Linked DNA regions of Homo sapiens: region 1 is linked to region 2. The links are contacts of gene promoters, found by promoter capture Hi-C in blood cells and fetal thymus (Javierre and others, 2016). All regions are on one chromosome and are shown on one strand. The core of a region is centred on a gene start or on the middle of the fragment in contact, and the rest is flanking DNA. Distances in the headings are between cores, read along the strand shown.

The links. Contacts are between HindIII fragments. The CHiCAGO score rates a contact against its expected background, and 5 or more counts as called.
Region 1: the fragment with the promoter of ZNF669 here is called in contact with the fragment with the promoter of TFB2M in region 2 in 4 of 17 cell types (total CD4 T cells, non-activated CD4 T cells, neutrophils and 1 more); the score reaches 6.9 in total CD4 T cells.

Annotation. Positions count from the first base shown.
Region 1 is chr1:247,102,890-247,105,630 of GRCh38, reverse strand. It overlaps ZNF669 (zinc finger protein 669), which reads left to right and starts at 1,275. Exons shown (of 4, transcript NM_001142572.2): 1 at 1,275-1,434. The coding sequence starts at 1,432. It overlaps FLJ39095 (a long non-coding RNA gene), which reads right to left and starts at 1,120. Exons shown (of 3, transcript NR_147502.1): 1 at 1-1,120. RefSeq lists an enhancer at 1,030-1,324. The HindIII fragment of the contact is 5,762 bases long and covers 1-2,741 here.
Region 2 is chr1:246,564,605-246,567,571 of GRCh38, reverse strand. It overlaps TFB2M (transcription factor B2, mitochondrial), which reads left to right and starts at 1,311. Exons shown (of 8, transcript NM_022366.3): 1 at 1,311-1,746. The coding sequence starts at 1,434. CNST (consortin, connexin sorting protein) reads right to left here and starts at 1,116. Exons shown (of 11, transcript NM_152609.3): 1 at 909-1,116. RefSeq lists enhancers at 512-1,011, 1,052-1,111, 1,342-1,621. The HindIII fragment of the contact is 6,532 bases long and covers 380-2,967 here.

The sequences.
Region 1 (2,741 bases), core at 26-2,525, 540 kb before region 2:
GAAGCCCCCTCCTGGCTTCGAGTTGACCCGCTTTTGCTTCAGGTTGTCCCGGATCAAACCAGTGTTCATCTTACATATGTTGATTGATGTCTCCTGTTTCCCTAAAATGTATAAAGCTGTCAGATACAGTCAGTTTCTCTTCCAAGGTTTGGCATGTTAACTTTCTTGTTTTTTTGTTTTCGAACTCAACTTTCTTGTTCTCCATGCCTCCTTGCCCTTAGTTACTGTAAACAACCTTCCGTCAGTTCTAATCAATAACTCACATCTGTTCCCTTGGTTACCTGCTCTGCACCCATTTCTCCCTTGGAAACCGCAAGTCCCACCATTGTAACTCACATCCCCCTTCCCCCTTCCTTATTTGGGAAAATATTCACAAATAGCCAACCGGGTCAGTTTAGATCGTGCGGTCTGACCCCAGCCCATGCCAGAGGTAGGGACTGCGTTAGGAATAAAAACCCCTGCTTTCCTCTGTTCAGTGTGCTCTTGCGATCGTGATTGATGCGAGCAGCACGCTTCTGCAGAAGTAAATTGCGTTGCTGAGAAAACTTTCGCTTGAGTGCTGGTTTCACTTTGCGGCACCGAGCATTTCTCTCCAACAAAACCAAGCTGTGCTCTGACCACCTTGGGCACATGTCATCAAGGACATCCTGAGGCTGTGTCATGCATATGCATCCCCAACCTTGGCAAAATAAACGTTCTAAATACTCTTACCCCAAATGCTCAGGGAGACTGATTTGAATAATCATAAAACTCCAAGCCTGCACTCCAGCCTGGGAGACAGAGCAAGATTCTGTTTCAAAAAAATAAAATAAAATAAAAAAACTCCGGTCTCCCGCACAGAGGACACTGCGTGAATTACTCTTTCTCTATTGCTATTCCCCTGTCTTGAGAAATCGGCTCTGTCTAGGTAGCGGGCAAGGTGAACTCCCTGGGCAGTTACAGAACTGTCATTATATTGCTTCCAATTTTATATATATATATATATATAAAAGGCACAAATAGCTATAACTTGTATACAGGTTAAATGTGAATGTCCTTCTTGCATGGTCGGATCCCAGCGCAGGAAGGACGCACCGCCTACAAACCGCTAGGCCAAAAGCGGTCATTCTGACCTCATCCAGCCTCACGTGAGATCGCAATCTCCTGTCACTCAGGGCCTGAGGGGCGGGGCCTGAAGCCCCATCCAATCAGGGGCGCTGGGGTGGGGACCGTTCAATCAGGCGCGCCGCCGGAAAGGAGAGGGCGGCTTCCGGGATCTGCCTGGCGGTTGCTTTGTCTCTCCTTCGCCGGAGCCGGCTCTTCCTGTTAGTCTCCGCTGCTAGTTCTTGGCTCTGGGAGGCCCAGGTGGCTCTGCAGCAGCCTCTGCCACCCTGTGACCTGCGAGTATTGGGACATCCCTAGCTGACGCCAGGACACCCGGGAAGCCGAGGAATGGTGAGTGGACTGCGCCTGGCTTCCCGAAGTGGAGAAGAGGGCTGGTTGAAACCTGCTGTGGCGCGACTCGGGCCTCCACGCCATCGGCTCCGGAACCTGCGGACCGAGTCGCCGTGGCGTAGCCGGGGCTCAGTCCTCTTCTGTTCAGGGCCGGGCCGGGCGGGGCGGGCAGCGGAACCCCTGCATCCTGTCTGTACCTGCGGGCGCCACTTCCGCCGGCCGGAGCCCTGTCGGGAACCCCTCGCCTCCCCTATCCAGGTAGTGTGGTGACCACGGGAGGGTGATGCGGGAGAGCCCCGACTCGGTGTCTCGGTGTGCGGGGTTCCAGCATGGGAGGAGCTGTGGTTCATGGGGCTTCCAGTCCCACCTTTCTTCCCCTAAAATTAAGCCGAGGCTTTGTTAAAACGTTAAACCGTGTGTTTGAGCAAACGGCGATTCATAAACCAGGTACCGCAGTCATGGTTTGTGGTTTGGGGTCCACAGAAGGGGCGTAAATGAGAGGCTTTGATAAGGTTAATGAGGAAGCAAACCATATTCTTTTTTTTTTTTTTTTTTTTTTTTTTTGGAGACGGAATCTCGCCCTGTCGCCAGGCTGGAGTGCAATGATGCAGTCTCACTCATTGCAACCTCTGACTCCCGGGTTCAAGCGATTCTCCTGCCTCAGCCTCCCGAGTAGTTGGGATTACAGGCGCCCGCCACCACGCCCAGCTAATTTTTGTATTTTTGGTAGAGACAGGGTTTCGCCATGTTGGCTAGGTTGGTCTCGAACTCCTGACCTTAAGTGATCCGCCCGTCTCGGCCTCCTAAAGCGCTGAGATTACAGGCGTGAGCCACCGCGCTCGGCCAAAATATTTTTCTGTTTACAAACATTTTACATGAGAGGAAAGCGGAGAATAAACCATCTGACACTCTACTGTAAAAAAATCTTTGTGCCTCTCTTCATCTTTCCTAAGTGTGCATATTACCAAAATGTCTTTAGGTTGATGTCCCCCTGTGAAAACTTTACAGGGTGTTGTGTCCTCAGCCCTTGGTCTGCTTGCTCATCTCTCTGCTAATACTGTGCTGTCCTGAATATTTTTGGTTGAAAATCTTAAAAGTATGTTAGGCAAGACATAACTCTTTTTTTAGATGACTGAAAATCATTAGACATTTGTCATTTTTACTAGGTATGAAAAACTAGTTTTTCTTGCCTAAAAAAGCCTGATTTGGGAATTTATGTGATTTCACAGGAATAGCATCTGGAAGTGGTGACATTAATGTCATTTTAAAAAACATGTGCCATATTTCCTCTTATTCCATTCTGCCTT
Region 2 (2,967 bases), core at 62-2,561:
ACCTTTTCCTCGTGCATTTAAATGCCAAACTCAATTACACTCTCAGTAGAGTAAGCAGAAAGGATTGTACGTATTCTAAGACACGGAGTTGATTGGCTGCCGTTTCTTGCCTTGGTGGTAAGGATAATGGGTAAAAGCTCTAAGTTTGATCCTGAAACACGGAAAACACTCTCAAAGAACCGTGTCTTCTAACATTGCCCAATAGGTAAAAAAAAAAAGACTGCCAAAATTTCCATTACAGCATCCTATTTTTAGTCTTCAAAATTGGGTCTTTTAAATCGCATTCCACAGTACGATGTGTTTGACTAAGTTTACATAAGGAATACAGTAAGCATCCTAAAGTCTTAATCTTTTTAAGCTTAGAAAGGAATTGTAAGCTTTTACATCTTCATTTTTAATCTTAACTTTAAGTCTTTTAAACACACAAACTGAAAAAATTAAGGAAAATATTGGCCCAGAGAGAGGAATGGAAGGGAGACACCACGCGGTTCTTGACAACCAAAGTGGTAGTGATGGGGGGGACCAGGTGTGGGGGGGAAATGAAAACCATCCACGAGGGTGGGGAGAGCGGGCTGTGGGCCACACAACAGAAAGGAACGGAGACCGTGGAAGCCGCAGGCTCCTCCAGGAGCCGGGTGAGGAACGACTTCTGGCGCTAGTCCCCTAGGGAGGGAGAAATTGGCGCGACGCGCAGCAATAGGAGACCCACAGTAGCTGAGAAAGGAGAGGAAAACAGGCGACCTGAGAGGCGGAGGAGGTAAGGGGACCGGGCTACACCTCACCCGGAGGGCAGAGGCTGCGCGGCTGGAGGAGGACAGCGCAGGGGGAGGAGCGAGAGGCTTCCGAAAGGCTTTCCATCCCGGCCGCGAGCCGGCGGGTCCCCTGCATCCCGCTCCTCCTCTCCTCACCTGGGAATCGGAGGCGCAAGGAGGGCTACCGCTGGGCGCCGGGTCTGTTTCCAGCCCCACTCGGCGACATGGCGGCCGACGTGCTGTCACGGAGCTTGCTCGGGTCTCCCCTGGCTCCGGTGGAGGAGACACCTCTCGCCTTTCCGCCCCGCCTCCCTCTGCGCACCCCTCGCGGCTGGCCGGCTGGAGGCTGGCGGCCCGCGACCGCGGAGCATAGAGCACTGGCGGCTAGAGAGGAAGCGCAGAGCGCGGACAACCATAGAGTACGAGTCCGGACACCAGCCGGATGGTCGGTCGCTCTCCTCAACGGTCCACTCACAATCCTCGGGCGGCTGAGCCGAGGCGGAAGCGGAAGTGAGGGAGAAAAGCAGGAAGGCTCCGCTGTTCGCATGCGCAGGCTCTAGTGTTTACTTCCGCTTGACCTGGCCCGGACGCCAGAAAATGTTCCACGTGGGATACCCTGCGTGGGGTTCACTGTAGTAGCTGCACTAGGTGATTCTTGGAGCGGGCCTGAGAGACAAGGACATGTGGATCCCAGTGGTCGGGCTTCCTCGGCGGCTGAGGCTCTCCGCCTTGGCGGGCGCTGGTCGCTTTTGCATTTTAGGGTCTGAAGCGGCGACGCGAAAGCATTTGCCGGCGAGGAACCACTGTGGGCTCTCTGACTCCTCTCCGCAGCTGTGGCCCGAACCGGATTTCAGGAATCCGCCAAGGAAGGCGTCTAAGGCCAGCTTAGACTTTAAGCGTTACGTAACCGATCGGAGATTGGCTGAGACCCTGGCGCAAATCTATTTGGGAAAACCAAGTAGACCTCCACACCTACTGCTGGAGTGCAATCCAGGTGAGTCCAGCTGAATTGCATTTTCTTGGATGTTCATCATTTATTCAAACGTATTGACCCTCCTCGGGGTGCTATTTTAGATACTGGGGGGTCTTTTTTGTTGTTCTTTTGCTTTGAGACGGAGTCTCGCTGTGTTGCCAGGCTGGAGTGCAGTGGGGCGATCTCGGCTCCCTGCAACCTCCGCGTACCGGGTTCAGGCGATTCTCCTGCCTCAGCCTCCCGAGTAGCAAGAACTACAGGCGCGCGCCACCACGCCCAGCTAATTTTCTTATTTTTACTAGAGACGGGATTTCGCCGTGTTGGCCAGGATGGTCTCGATCTCTTGACCTCGTGATCCTCCCCCCTAGGTCTCCCAAAATGCTGGGATTAGAGGCGTGAGCCACTGCGCCCGTCCAGATACGGGTCTTTGTTTGAAGCTCCTTAGTTGGAGAGATTGCCCACTACATAAGCGTAGAGTCTGTATCGTTAATGACACCACAAAGTATTTCTGTAGCAGCTTGCACTTTACACAATATTTTGATAAAACATGCTCTTAGATCTTATCTCCCCAAAAGAGTTGCAAGCCTCTGCCAGCTGAAAAAATGATGTTATCTTATTCTTCCGTGCATTCCCTATAGACCATAGCAGGATGCTAAGAACACAAGATTTATAGGCTTTTTGAATGATAGTTTTTTAAAGCACCATTTCATATCACAGGGAGTCAGTTCTGTTTAGGCTTGACAATCTCTTTGATGGTTAAAGCATCCGTGTAGTCCGTGAGGAAGTGATAGGCTAGAGGCAATCTATTTTGCTGTGACTTTTTTCTTCTAAGAGGTAGTGAATCATGGTGATGAAGAGTGCAAGTTTTGACCTGGTGCGGTGGCTCACGCCTGTAATCCAGCACTTTCAGAGGCCGAGGCGAGTGGTTCCCTTGAGGTCAGGAGTTCCAGACCAGCCTGGCCAACATGGTGAAACTCCGTCTCTGCTTAAAATACAAAAATTAGCCGGGCGTGGTGGCGGGCGCCTGTAATCCCAGCTACTCGGGAGGCTGAGGCAGGAGAATCGCTTGAACCCAAGAGGCAGAGGTTGCAGTGAGCCGAGATTGCCCCACTGCACTCCAGCCTGGGTGACAGAGTGAGACTTCGTCTCAAAAAAAAAAAAAAAAGAGTGCAGGTTTTGCAGTCGCTGACAATGATTTCAAAGCCAAGCTGCATCACTTTTGACGCTGGAGTCAAATAAGTA